3 separate regions of the Homo sapiens genome follow, and regions 2 and 3 are each linked to region 1. The links are contacts of gene promoters, found by promoter capture Hi-C in blood cells and fetal thymus (Javierre and others, 2016). All regions are on one chromosome and are shown on one strand. Each heading gives the region's core, a stretch centred on a gene start or on the middle of the fragment in contact. The rest is flanking DNA. Distances are from core to core; before and after follow the strand shown.

What was found. The method cuts DNA at HindIII sites, captures the fragments that hold promoters and counts their contacts. A CHiCAGO score of 5 or more calls a contact.
Region 2: a contact is called between a fragment that was not itself captured here and the fragment with the promoter of FAM131B in region 1, in 1 of 17 cell types (M0 macrophages). The highest score is 5.1, in M0 macrophages.
Region 3: a fragment that was not itself captured here is called in contact with the fragment with the promoter of FAM131B in region 1 in 1 of 17 cell types (neutrophils); the score reaches 5.1 in neutrophils.

The regions. Positions count from the first base shown.
Region 1 is chr7:143,359,877-143,364,789 of GRCh38, reverse strand. FAM131B (family with sequence similarity 131 member B) reads left to right here and starts at 2,077. Exons shown (of 7, transcript NM_001031690.3): 1 at 2,077-2,214; 2 at 4,641-4,750. The coding sequence starts at 2,187. FAM131B-AS1 (FAM131B antisense RNA 1) reads right to left here and starts at 3,084. Exons shown (of 3, transcript NR_183342.1): 1 at 2,733-3,084; 2 at 1,533-1,600; 3 at 525-889. The HindIII fragment of the contact is 5,612 bases long and covers 1-4,913 here.
Region 2 is chr7:143,453,247-143,458,159 of GRCh38, reverse strand. The region is part of intron 2 of EPHA1-AS1 (EPHA1 antisense RNA 1); the gene reads right to left. Among named protein-coding and RNA genes, the nearest start is that of TAS2R60, 12 kb to the right of the region's middle. The HindIII fragment of the contact is 957 bases long and covers 2,435-3,391 here.
Region 3 is chr7:143,432,265-143,437,177 of GRCh38, reverse strand. The region is part of intron 2 of EPHA1-AS1 (EPHA1 antisense RNA 1); the gene reads right to left. It also overlaps the pseudogene TAS2R62P. Among named protein-coding and RNA genes, the nearest start is that of TAS2R60, 8.7 kb to the left of the region's middle. The HindIII fragment of the contact is 6,221 bases long and covers 1-4,913 here.

The sequences.
Region 1 (4,913 bases), core at 828-3,327:
AAGGAGACTGGGACAATGGCCTTAACTAGTGAGAAGTAGCAGAATCCTTGTATAAGAAGACCTATAGGGAGCAGGAAGGAAGCTGGCCAGGAATATGCCTAGAATATTTTACTTTTTTTGTGTGGGTAGTGGGGAGGGACTGGAAATACCTTCAAGACAGAATGCAAGATGGGACTGAGTCTCCAAGACCTGGAATCCCTCATGTTAAATCATTTGGATAAATGCAGCCTTATATAGTTGTGTTAAGGAGACCAAGGGGAGAGGTTTGCATCCAAGTTGGAACCACAGTAAGAGATACGTAGTCATATATAAATATATGTATTACTCAGGGAGAGCCATAAGGAGACAGAAGTTTCAGGTGGGAAGGCAAGAGCATAATGGCCACGTGGTCTGTTCCTCCTTACCTGGCCAGTCCCCTGTCAGCGTTTTCTCTGCTCAAACAATAGGGGTGTGTGGGCATTGCTAGAATAATGGAAGCTGTTTGTTCTTTTTTTTTTTTTTAATCATCTCTCCATCTTCTTTCCTTTGCGACTGGACAGTATATTCCATGAAAGCAGAAACTATTTGATACTTCTTTTATATAACCAATAATAGTAGATATGAAAAAAGAAAATGCTTTCTAATTCTCTCCACTATTGAAATAGGGTATCAGACCCTGCCACGAACTACACTAAACGATTAAAATCTAAGCAGACCTGCAACTGATTATTATCTCATTCCTTCCCGCGGTTTTATAGATGTAGATTTGGCTTATTTCTTCATGCACATACACCGAAGATGGATTCTGTCACCATAATCTCATCTCCTCAATCTGCAATTCAGTTGTTAGTGTCTTCTTCTTGCACATCTTCATCTGCCACCCCATGGGATGTAGCTCTCCATTCATAATCTAAAGGTTAGAAAGTTGCATCCATAAGACTTAGCCTCCCTGTTAGGAGCCCACACCAGGGACCCCTGGCCCATTGCCTTCTCTCTCTGCAACCTCGGAGAGACCTAAAAGTGGGCGAGGTGCAGTCAGAGCCTGGATGGGCACTTGCTTCTGTGAATGCCCACCTGCCCACTCTCTCACACTTTGGGCTTTCTGGGTACACCTTAGACAAAAGGGTCTCCTTGCCCTTTCTCATGCATCTTTTCTGGACTCCACTTCTTACCTGCTGTAACCACAGTGCTCATTTAACCCTTGCAACTTAGACCTTCATCTCCTCCCCATGGGGCTTGAGGTATCTACCTGGCCCAGTCCCACTAGCCAGAGGCCAATCTTTCTCTCTCTTTGCTGCTTCGGGACCGCCTTGCTTTCATTTGTCCGAGAAGATCACGTCTCAGAAAAGTTAAACTGGATTCAAGACGATGTCTCCTAGCCAGCCTCGGGTCCTGACATTGTTGTTAGTCTACTGCGAATGAACTGTCCTCCTCATATTCTCCAATCCCCAACCAGGCCTGGAGGTCAACTATCTGCACATCCCCACACCCACCCCTGAATGTCCAGCGAGCACAGAGAAGTGGACTACACGATTCACTTGCAAAGACTTCACCTTCTGTTTGGATGGACAAAATAGCGCACTCGAAACAACAGAGCCCAAAGCTGTGTCCAATCACGTTCCTGTGTGTGTCCCAGATGCGGCCCCAGGAGGAAAACAAGTGTTTGCGGAATTTGGTGGCCAAAGGCCCTTGGGCCTGGCTTTATTCTCACCACCACCCCACTTTCTCTCAGGGCATCCCCTGACCCCGGCCCGCAAAATCCATCAACCAGAACCTCGGGGTAGGCCCTGGGTTCGTGCCTCGGCTCCTGAAACCCAAGCCGGGGTTCTCCAGGAGAGAGCCCCGGGAGCGGGGCTTGGCACGGGCGGGAGGAGGGGGGCGGCGACGGCGGCCCCAGATCCCCGAGGGAGCGCCCCGGCACGGCCGGAGCAGGGGCGGGGAGGCGCGGGGCGCAGCCAATCCCCGGGCCGCCCCCTCCCCGGCCGCGGCGAGCCGAGCCGGGGCGGGGGAGCCAGGCGGCGGCGGCGGCGGCGGCGGCGGCGGCGACGGAGCTGCCGTGGGGAGGGATGGAGAGGGGAGGGGGGAGCGGAGCCGAGCGGAGACAGCCGCGGCGCTGCAGAGCGGCTGGGGCGGCGGCGCGGCTCCCGGTGCTCCCCCCGGCGCGCGCCCCGAGTCGGTGAGGGCCCGGCTCTGCGGCCCCCGGAGCCATGGGCTGCATCGGCTCCCGGACTGTGGGTGGGTACCGCGGCCGGGCGGGGGCAGGGCTGGGCCCCCCGGGCCGCCCTCCGACCCCCTCCCCCATCCCTCTCCTCGCGCCTCCGGGCGCCCCGCTCCGCACCCGCCTTGCCCTGCTAGCTCCTTCACTTTCCTTCCGTCCGCCCGCGGTCCCTCTGTCCCTCCTTCCTGCCCGCTCTCGTCTTGCGCCTCCGGGGCTGCCATCCCGCTCGGCTCGCTTCCTTCTCCCCGTCGCCCTCCCGCAGGCGCGGTCCTCTCCATCCTCTCCATCGCCCTCCTCTCCTCTGCCTCTCGGCCCGACGCTCGGTCCCCTCATCCCTGCCCCTCCAGGCCATCCGCCTCTGCTCCGCCGTCCCCAGCGCCTCCTCGCATCCCCCACTCCGGAGCAGCCCCCCGCGAAGGACCCTCGGCCTCCGCGCCAGCCCCGAGTTTCTTTCGCACGCCCCCCACGCCACCCCCCGCCGCCGCCTCCATCTGGCTCGGGTGCTTTGCCCCATCTCTCTCTCCCTCTCCGTTGCCTTTTACTGTCGTTCCTGCCTCCTCCGATTCGCTTTGTTCACGTGCGTTTTCCCTCTGGGGCGGGGGCGGGATGAGCCCGGGTTCCACGCCCGGAGGGACAGGGCCAGGGCCGGGTGGAGGGAAGGGGCTGGGGGACGCGGGGAGGAGATGGGGGCTTCGAGGCGCTGGGAGGGGTCGGGAGCCCGCGGCCCGGGAGGGTGGGGCCGGCCCTGCCTCGGCGGCCGGGGACCCGCCTGCACCTGTCAGCGGGGGCCGGCGGGGCGGGGCCGGCTCTTTATTTACCTTTGACGCGGGGAGGGAAGAGAGGCGCCTCCTAATCCATCTTCTCCCTCCAGCTTCTGCCTGGCTACCGCCCCTGACCCCCACCCAGGCACCCACTCCACTCTCGCCGCTCAGCGAATTCATCCGGCCCTCTCCCACCCCCTCCCCCATTCTTCCCCTTTCCAACTCCCAATTTCTCCCGCCTACACCTCCCGGTGACCTCAGGCTGAGAGAATAATTCGTATTATTATTACAAACAAACTCACTCTCCAGAAGCCTGATTTCCCTGAGACCCGGTTTATTTCCATGGATACCCCCTCCTCCTCTGCTTTCACCCCTTCTCCGCGGCTCTCTCCCTCCCCGCTGCCCCCCACAGCTCTGACTCAGCTCTCCGTCTCTCACAAAGGCCACCTCCCGCTCCCCTCTCCCCCCGCACCCCGCCCTCCCCTGTCTCCCTTCTCCTCAGGCTCTTCTCCACCTGCCCCATTCCTGCTGTGTCCGGAGGGCCATCTTTCCTCTTTTCCCCCAGTCACCACCCCGCGGAGCCCCAGGGGACAGCAGGCCAACTTTGGAGGGTCCTCCCTCCTCAGTCCGGTTCACCACAAGCCCCTTCCTTTCCCCCAGCCCTGCTGATGTGCTGAATGCCTCCTCGTGCCCAGCCCCATTCAATGCTCCCCTTCCCAAAAATGGAGCCGACCCCTAAACTCACAATTGTAAAACCTCATGAGTATAAAGGGCCTGTACGGTCAGATGGTTCAGGCAGCCATCTGCTGCTTGAATAGTCCCTTTATGAAGACCCAAGCAGTTCTTCCGCAAGACTCTCCGCGGCACCATCCTGCCCTCAGTCCAGGAGTCTCCCTCCACCAGGAGCTCTGGCCCGGCTGTAACAAGGACCCTCCTTCCCCTGAGTCCTGCAGTTTCCCACTCAGCCCTCAGACCCTGTCCACCCCTCCCACCATCTTCTGTCTTCTCTCTGACTTGAATTCCTATTTTCTTAATTCCTATTTTAAAAAGTTCTCTTTTCTCCTCCTGCTCACCAGCTTCCCTCCACTTTAATCCATCACTTCTCTCCCCACAGTCAGGTGAAATGCCTCCAGCTCACCCTTGGTTTCTCTGCTCACTGTTTTTGGGAGGACACACCCAACTCCTTGCTATCCAACTCCTGCCTCGATTCCCAGGAAGTCCTCTTCCAGTCAGTCAGACTCATGGACTCTTAGGAAGGGCCCACCGGGGGAGACACATCCCTTCCACCCTAAGCATAGAGAAAAGTTCCTCATAGAGCAGCTCTGCCCTTATCTGTAGACTTGTAATAGAGAAAAAGCCCAGCTCCCATACAGAAACCCTCCAAGAGTCCTCAGGACGGAATAATTGGTTTTCTGATAAAACCCAACCTCTGACCCCTCCACATAAACAACAACAAATAAGGCCATACATCACTTTTTCTGAGTGCACTATTCTGGGTTGAGCTAAAACTGAATATTTGGGCTCAGCATTACTACTTGTCTCCCCTAGAATTTGGAGAGTGCAGGGATATAAGAGGAAATGGGCAGCTGGGGTAAGGAAGGGGTGTGAAGGGCTGGCCCCAGGGTGTCGCCTCGGCTGCACAGGGAGGTGAGGGCCGGCGGCTAACCTTCTGGCCCCCTCAGGGAATGAGGTGATTGCAGTGGATTGGAAGGGCCTGAAGGATGTCGATCAAATCAACATGGACAGCACCAGCTCACTGCACGGGAGCAGCCTCCATCGGCCATCGACTGAGGTGAGACCTCACTCAGCCACCCCAAGTCTCTGGCTGCCTGCACTTCCTCAATTCCAAGGCAACAACCCAAACACTCCTTCAGACTGACACTTCTACAGAACATTTCTCACAACACATGCCAAGCAGTCCACATGGAGAACCCAGTTAGCGGCATCAACCTCAG
Region 2 (4,913 bases), core at 1,664-4,163, 93 kb before region 1:
GAATTTAGAATCCAAGGTTTAAACTCAGCAAAGAAATGTGAATGGAGAGCATAGGAAAGCAGAGGAAAATATCTCAAGGTTTAATTATTTTTTACTCGAATGAGAATGCTGTTGATTTTAGGACAGGGACTGCACTCTGTCACCCAGACTGGAGTGCAGTGGTGTGATCACAGCTCACTGCAGCCTTGACCTCCCCGGGCTCAAGCAATCCTCCCTTCTCAGCCTCCTGAGTAGCTGGGACCACAGGCGCATGCGACCACACCTGGCTAATTGTACTTTTTGTAGAGATGGGATTTTGCTATGTTGCCCAGACTAGCCTGGAACTCCTGGACTCAAGCGATCTGCCTGCATCAGCCTCTCAAAGTGCTGGGATTATAGGTATGAGCCATTGCTCCAGAATTTAAGATCCTTCTTGATGTGAAAGAGCCAGAGCTTCTGCCACGTAGACCCTCCAGAAGAGAACAGGGTTCATGGACATGCTGTTGAGTGCATGTACCTGCAACTGCAGCAAGGCACGTGGCTCTGCCTCTGGGTCATTCTGTAGTTGTAAAATGTTCCACAAGCAACTACTGAGCTGCTCATTGTATCTGAAGGACTATACATTCTTTATAGCCAAGACTATGCAATATTTCTCTCTTTCACTGCTCTAGTAAAAATGTTTAAGAATTTCTAAAGTTTATGATTCTTTCATTCATCAGCACCTGTGACTCATTGATTCTTCCTCACAAAGTGTTCATGATCATTCATCTTCTGATTCTCAAAAGGATTTGCTCAAAGAATGTTTGCTGAACACAGTATAAGGTCTTAATCACTTAAATACATGCTTTAATTTCAGACACTTCTCTTTGTTTTATAGGGAGACACACGTTGTTCTCTCAATGGACAAGGATCTTCTTCAACCCCTGCATCCCCCACATAGTGGCACAAAGGAAATATTTGTTGAATGAATGAGGTTAGTTGCTTTTCCTTTTTAAAATAATCTTGATGTGTCACTACATATTTTGGTACAGATGCTTTCAATATTTGGTTATTCAAGGAGACTGAGTTGGCAAAACTTTAAATAGATGCTATGATAGAAGCAGTAAAGCTTGCATTTAGCTTGGAAATGTTGAGAAGAAACATGTATACATTTTCATCTTCATGATCCTCCTCACCTAAAGCCGTGGGCTACTGGAATGTCTGCAGAGTATGTTGTACATACAAAGACATTTTCACTCTTACTTGTTGGAACCCCTGAATATATCTGGTCCCATCACCACAGGTTGGTGGTGACATTTTTCAAAACTAAAATTAAAAAATAATGGATCAGTAAAACTTCACCATAAGAATACCTGTAATAAAAATTCCCAAACACAGATAATGGAAAATGTAATGTTATTGACTCGGATAAATATAAGCCATTGGCTTTAACTTGAGAAATACAGCTTTTCCCCCAACTTTCTTACAGATTCCTCAATTATAGTACAGAGGAGTTAAAATTTAAATGCTTCCCAACTCTAAAGTAGCTGGTCCAATGTGGACCAATTTGGATCAGCTACTTTTCTTCTCCATTTGAAACTTTCCAACAATAAAGACAACAGTCTTCTTGTACTTGATCCCTACAGAATTAAACAGATGCTGCTTTTGGTGTGGACCCAAATCATAGCCCCTCAAGGAGTTTGTCAGCAGATTTGGAAGCCACCAACTTTTAAAAGTAAAGTCCTAATCCCTTATTTTATGAAAATTATACTGCCACTGGAGGCAGAAATCTATCTTGTCCTCAAAAACATTGCACTTGGTTGGGCACGGTGGTTCATGCCTATAATCTCAGTACTTTGAGAGATTGAGGCAGGCGCATCACTTCAGACCAGGAGTTTGAGACAGCCTGCGCAACAGGGCAAAACTACATCTCTACAAAAAATGAAAAATAATTAGTAGGGCATGGTGGTATGCGCTTATAGTCTCAGCTATTCAAGGAGGCTGAGGTGGGAGGATCCTTTGAGCCCAGGAGTTTGAAGCTGCAGTAAGCCACGATTGCACCACTATGCTCAGCCTGGGGAACAGAGTGAGAACTTATCTCAAAACCAAACAAACAAACTATTGCAATTTAGTTTTGATGTAAAAGGTATAACAATCTGAGTACATAGGAGCAGTTTCATATTTTAAAAAAATCACCTTGAGCAAAATAGATAATGAAAGTATCATGTAAATAGTGTATTTTAAATAGTTTATTCAACCTCTTTTTAAAAATTGTTTGGCTTACTGAAAGAAAAATAAAAGTTTTCAAAAAGAACTGTCCCCACACACAGTCCCCTACCCCCAACTAGCCTTCGATTTCCATCACTATAGTCCAGAACAAGTATTATTTATAGTTAAAAGATGCATCAGTCAGCTCAGCTAACTAAAGTTCCAAATGCATTCAGCTGCCTACTGCTGAAGCCCAGTTTCGAAAGCTTTTATCTGTCACCAAGGCCAGCCATCCACACCATTGAAACTCAGAATCATTACAAGCCTGTGACAGAGGCCAACCCCATGAGCAGAAGCTCCCTCTCTGCCTCACAATTCTGATTTCACTTCAAAGATCCAGTTTCCCTCACAACCCTCCTCCTATCTGAGGTCTTGTTCTTGTGACTTTTTTAATCTCAAGATTACCCCCATTCACTTGAGTGAATCACAATAGAGTGGCCAGCGATATGGGCCTAAGTATACAAGAGTTCAGAAAAGGAGGCCATGCATGACTTTAAGAAATGTCGAACCTAATAGATTACTATCAAAGATAAACAGAAACCCCAATATCAAGTATTTGAAAAGTACAAAATTTGCAGCAAAATATTACAAATAAGTAATACTAAATAATGGACTGTATCCGATTAGTTTCCATTTTATAATTCTCTCAGTACTAGGGTCAAATATGAACTATTATATTATACTTCATTAGTGGTCACTTCAGCTCTTCACTGCTTCGTACTCCTTTAACTGGTGTATATATGTTGCATGGTAAATTTCTTGAATGTTAAGATCCTACTTTTATAACCCCATTGCACTTAGCAGGGATGTACACCTAGACCTCCATATCAAAGTGATCAATAAATGCTTGTTAAGATGTATATGAACATGGAAGCAATTACTCGTCTCTAACAACAACTGTGAAAAATGTGGAGGCTCAGTGTTGTATCAGTGAACCAGCAAAATCACCAGTTTCTGAATGTGTAAGAGAATATCAATTGATGATCCAGCTTCTAGCAGCCACGCCCATTTCTACAAGCATAGAAATGATGACCTGTTGCATAATAATAGTAGTCTAGTTAATTATAATAAAATAATGTATGCATGTGTTCAGCAAATATTTATTGAGTGCCTACAATTTGCCAGTAAAAACAAAACAGACACAAATCCCTGTCTTCGAGAAGCTTACATTAGAGTGGGGGAAATAAACCATAAAAAATATAAATAAGTAAAAGAGATAGTGGTAATACTAAGGAGAAAAAAACAGGACAGGGAATAGTAGTACAGGGTATTGCAATTTAGATAGAGTAGCAATGACAATTCCTGAAATAAGTGAGGGAGTGAGCCATGCTAATATCTGGGAATAGCATTCCAAGCACAGAGAATGCAAAGACTTTGGACAAATTCAAGGAACATCGAGAAAGCCAAAGGGATGAGCTCAGTGTGAGAGGAGGGTAAAACAGCAACAGATGACTTCAGAAACATGAGATAGGGCACATGGATTATAGAGGGCATTTTAGTTCATTATGAAGACTTAAGCTTTTACTCTAGGATGAAAAGCAAATCCAGAATTATGAAAGAGATGTGACATGATATGATTTATATTTTTCAGGGATCCTGCTGGCTTGTTGTATTGGAAATAGACCAAAGGCAAACAAGAGCAGAAGCTGCAAAACCAGTTAGGAAGCCATTGCAATAATCCAAGCTAGAGTTATAGTGGCTTGCACCAGAGCAGTAGCAATGGAGGTGGTGATAAGCAGTAGAGTTACAGATTCATTTTGAAGGTTGAGTTAACAACCTCAACTCTAACCCTGACTTTTTCAAACCCTTGTGTCAAGGTCTGGCTTTCAAAAGACTGGAGTGAAAGGACAGCTTTCTCCATATGAAACCACAACCCAGAAGCAGGTCATCTACCAATGCTTTAGCTCTAGGTTAAATGGTCTAGCATCAGGGTTGCTGAATGATTCTTCATGGAATGCAAAAGGTTTTGCCCAGAGAAACTAGAAGAACGGAGTGGCAGAAACAGAAAAAATAGTGAGAGAAGCATGTTGGAGTGGGAGGTCAGAGAATATCAGGAGTTCAGTTTTAGATATAAGTTTTAAATCAGACATGTATGTACACATGTAAAGAAGGGATCTACAAGGGTGAATCACAGAGATATAGCCTGAAAATCAGACCACTTAGATTACACTTTTTATTTATTTTTTAATTTAATTTTTAATTTTAATTTTTGTGTGTGTGAGTGGTCTTTTGCTTTGCACGCCTGTTAGCCTCCAGCAGGGGTTCAAGTGAGACTATGTAAAGCTCTGTATGTGTCTCTTATTTTAATTTCAATTTTTATTTTAGATTCAGGGAGTAAATGTGCAGGTTTGTTATGAGGGTATAATGTATGATGCTGAGGTTTGGGCTCCTGTTGATCCTGTCACCCAGAGAGTGAACATAGTACCCAACAGGAAGTTTTTCAGCCCTTGCCCCCACTCCTTCCCTCCTTTTGAAGTCCCTAGTGTCTATTGTTCTCATCTTTATGTCTGAGATCACACTTTTCAAAAGCAGAGTCTGAGATGGAGATTCTTGTGCAAGTTACATTTTGAGTTGTTCCTTTCAGGAAAAAAAAAAAAAAACTATAGGAAAATAAGATACACAGGATAGAAGAAGAGAAGAAACTAAATTTTTTAAGTAGTTTCTAGATCAATATACAGTCACTTTGA
Region 3 (4,913 bases), core at 705-3,204, 73 kb before region 1:
ACAATCATGTCACTTGTGGACAGCATCCGGCACCTTACCCACTCCCTGCCCAGCATTGTGACCAAGAATCCATTCTGCAGCATTGCAGCCAATGACTCCAGGCAAAAGATGGCTATGAAGATCAACGTGGGCAAGGAGGGCATCTTCTCCAGGGAGGTTCTGCTAAGTCTCAGCTCCTACTGCAGAGGGCTGGGACACATCTTCAGGGAAAAACAGCCTCTCTGGCTGAGTCAAGCCACCTTGTTGACACCAGAGACTCAGAAGCCCTTGTCCCTGGATTCATAGAAAATCCCAGCCACCAGCAAACACCCCCAGTCCCCAGAATTTGAAAAGATAATTTCTGCAATCTCCTTTGGCATGCAAATCACTCCCAGCTCAATGACACCATCTCTATTTGCATAACCTGTATTTGCCTGTCCTTTCTCAGAGCCAGATGCAGAGAAACATTAACAGAATAGAGGCTGCTGGGGTGACTGAAAATACCCACATTTTGTACATGATGTCTTAACTGTACTATTTCTTTCCTAACTCTTCTTTAAAAGACATTGTTACTCTTATTGCCCTCCCCAAACCAAAAACCTTCCCTTCACGTCCTGCCTTAATATTTTATTCAGTAGCCTCTATACACTGCCTTAGCTCACTTCCCGAATGGGTGGAACAGAAAAATCATTCGCATGCACAAGGCTTCACATTACCAAGAAAAGGCCCCCTAACCACTGGCCTCTCATGCTGCCTAAAATTTCACTGTCAAGCTCCATATTGGAGTTCATGGAATCTCCAGTTAAAATGTGGATTTCTCTGATATGTTACCATCATCTGTTAACTGTTATCCCCTTGGCTCCAGAGTGCTTGATCAACCAAAAGTAATCAGTTCCTAAGAAGCCTCTGAGGAAATGAGAGAGAGTAGATAAATCATAATGAGAAGACGAGAAAGACAGAGAAGGGAAACTGACCCAGAGGGGACATCACCATAGGAGCTGGGGGAAGCAAGAGTTGGTGGAATGACAAGAGGAGCTCAGGGCAAAGCTGGGCCACAGGGAAGTTTTGCTTTATGTGGAGTGAGCCCTGTCCTATAACAATACTGAATATATAATAGTAAAAACCACCCTGCTGAAACACCTTGTCTTTTTTTTTTTTTTTTTTTTTGACAGTCTCACTCTGTCGCCAGGCTGGAGTGCGGTGATGTGATCTCGGCTCACTGCAACCTCTGCCTCCCGGGTTCAAGCAACTCTCCTGCCTCAGCCTCCCAAGTAGCTGGGACTACAGGCATGTGCCACCATGCCCCGCTAATTTTTGGATTTTTAGTAGAGAAGGGGTTTCATCATGTTGGCCAGGATGATCTTGATCTCTTGACCTTGTGATCTGCCCGCCTTGGCCTCCCAAAGTGCTTGGATTACAGGTGTGAGCCACTGCATAGGGCCCCACCTTGTCATTTTTAAAGTGATTTCACACATCTTACATTTGGCCTTTACCGCCAACCACACAAAATGACACTGGTTCAGATCAGCCAACCCAGGCTCAGGGAGCCATGAGGACAGGTTCAACTGAGGAAAGAATGCCTATGAATGTGGAAAAAGTAAAAACAAAAGGGTTAAGAGGGAAGAGAGAGAAGGAGGGTAGAAGAAAGCAGAGGTGTGGATAGAAAAACAGGGAAGGGAATCCCCTGGCAAATGTCTCAGATCTTGGAGTCAGGGCTCTCCACCAAGATGAGTCACAGAAAATAGCCTTGCCTACTTCCCATGGTCTCACTCAAGATTCTACAGGTGAGAGAGGCCTGTGTGTGAAAGATTAAAGAGAAATAAAAACAAGGACAAACACTTGTGGTGGCGACTTCAAGAAAAAGAGGTTCAGCTCTCGAATATAGCAATTGCTTGAAGAGCTGCTTGTTTGTTTGTTTGTTTGTTTGTTTTGAGACGGAGTCTCGCTCTGTCGCCCAGGCTGGAGTGCAGTGGTTTGATCTTGGCTCACTGCAAGCTCCACCTCCCGGGTTCACGCCATTCTCCTGCCTCAGCCTCCGGAGTAGCTGGGACTACAGGCGCCCGCCACCACGCCCGGCTAATTGAAGAGCTGCTAGTTTTTATTGAACTCTCAAAAGATTGTTAGAGAGCGGATAATTCAACCTGATCAACTGTTTTGTAACACAGCTTCAGCGTCTTTCTTTAATTCTTTGCATGTCTTCCTCTGGCTTCTTGAAGACAACAGCAATGAGTGGCTTCTGCATGCTCCACAGCATTTTGGCTCGTCTCAAAATCCTTTGGCCGGAGCCCAGATTCATGATGTCATCAAGAAGCGAGCTGAGGCCATGGTACACACGCCCTGTTGCGGTCACGTGTAACCAAGTAGACATCTAATGTTTGCGGGCAAACTTCATGTTCTCTGCAGAGGTGCCAAAGCGTGCACTTTGCCAGAACAAGTCTTCCCCAGGACTTTTCCTTTCTACAGTTGATAGCTCTAGAAAGTAAACATTTTCTCCTGTTTCAATACTCTTCTATAAGAAGGCTGAAAGAGTACCTTTCCCGCAGGCACCTGTTTATCCATCTCTCAGTGCTTCACTAGATATATCTTATGGGGGTCCCATGTCCCATTCATAGTCTGCCACCAAAAGATACCATAAGCAAGATGATGTTTTAGGTTTTTTCTGTTTTTCAAGAGTCCTTCGAATGTGAAATAGCAATCAAAATACAAGGTGTTTCTCACAAAAGTTTGGGTCACATTTCTCTTTTTTAAAGGTGTCTCATTCCTGCAGCTGAAGCTAACGAATTATTTTCTGCAGCATGACTGGAGATAGTTTTTTAGGATGAAGTCTGAGTCTTCTGTGAAATGGTAGTAATGGTAAACAGGTAACAGCAGAAGACTGGATTAAAATGGAAGATTCTGCAAAGAGCTACTGGCACTTCCCTCACGTTAGTCCTCTACACCAGTAAAGTGCTTTTTGGTTTCTGTTGATTCGTTTGTTTTTTGTTTTTATTTTCTTTTTCTTATCACATTCAAGAATACATTCTTGAATTCTTAGAGAATGAATTCTTGGTTCATCTTAGAGACATACAAAAATACATTTCATTTGACAGGTTTCTCAATCTTGGTGCCCATTCCCAACTGAACCTTTGAGTGACGTGCATTGCATAAATACTTCCACGTATTTCCATGGCTTTATCGGGTAACTGATGGCCCACTCCAGGGAAAGGTGGAGGAAAAAGGAAATAACAATGTTTTTAATGGCTAGACTGCACATAAATGTTAAGCTAAACTATGCACAAATTTAATAATGATTTCCCTGCAAGATAAGCCCTAAATATTTTTTCTCACCCTGAAGACTTCCTCTGACTCTTATATTTAAGTAAGTAATTTAGAATAAACATTGGCTGTAATAGCAATCCGGCATAATAGAGAATTTTAGCTTTCTGAAAGTAAATTTGGGAATTTCTAACATCTTCCATTATCAAAATGTGAATGTACAGTTGAATATCGTTTAATATTCAGGTAAATCTACAGACTTTCCTCTCAAATAAAAAATAGCATTTGATAGTTATTTTTGTAATTATAAAGTTAGCCTGCAAGGAAGTTGAGTCCAATTCTATTTCAACTAAAAGATCTTTAGAATGAATCTTTCTCTTTGCCTTGCTCCATTCGAGCATTTAGAAGCAATAAAATTAATCTCTAAAGGAATAAATCAAACGTTCTTCCCATAATGCCATGAACTTCACTCAATGTCTAACATCTACTGGAGGGATAAGTTATGTTCGATAATTTCTAAATCAGTGGTTTACAAATTATGCTTTCCAGGGAGTTCTCATGGTAGGGAAAGGGTAAGAGGAGAACTGAGAAAGTAGAACCATAAACCCTCATTTCCTTTTCAAACACAGCAGTCCTGCTTATATGTATTTTATATACTGAGCTTCTACATACTATTTCAAAGAAAGAACTCCATTGCAAGAAACAAATTTTAAACCGCTACCATAGATAGATCCAAAGTCAACAAGAGGGGTAAGGACAGATTGCATCAACCCACCTTCTTTCCTTTGCTCCCCAAAACTCTTCTAAATTAACTGTGAAAGATTTTTGAGGCCAAGTGCAGTGGCTCACCCCTGTAATCCCAACACTTTGGGAGGGCAAGGCGGGCAGATCACAAGGTCAGGTGTTCAAGACCAGCCTGGCCAACATAGTGAAATCCCGTCTCTACTAAAAATACAAAAAAAAATCAGCTGGGCATGATGGCATGTGCCTGTAATCCTAGCTACTCGGGAGGCTGAGGCAGGAGAATTGCTTGAACCGGAACCCGGGAGGTGGAGGTTGCAGTGAGCCGAGATCACGCCACTGCATTCCAGCCTGGCCTACAGAGAGACTCCATCTCAAAAAAAAAAAAAAAAAAAAAAAAAAAAAAAAAAATTGAAATTAAGGCATAAATCCAAATAAAATAGATAGAAGAGTGATCAAAGATACAACAGCCCTAAGAAAACAGAATTCTATCCAAGCAGAAGGAAAAGTCAAGAATGAACCGACTTTTACCCAAGATTTGCCATACCAGGTTCCTCTAGAGAAAAACTAGTTAAAAGTCAGTTTAAGATTCAGATTCCCAAATCACTTTGTATACCTGGGCAACCACCACTCTCTCACCCTAGTATTGTCTGGAAAGGATAAAATGGGATCACTGAGCTGGATGTATCTATAGCACAGTTGAGACAAGGGTACTATACTGAGACAGGGACATTAGGTGAGCAAATGCTCTCCTCTCACATGGTTTTTAGAACTCCGGAACCCAGGCTTTTACCCTACAGGCAGATGAGTATCGTCTTTTCCAAGAACTCAAACATTCTAAAAGGAAGACATAAAGACAATATCAGATATTCCTCAAATAATTAGTCCAGCCAATCACTTTACAGTGAAGCCCATAATTAACAAGTCCCATTCATGAG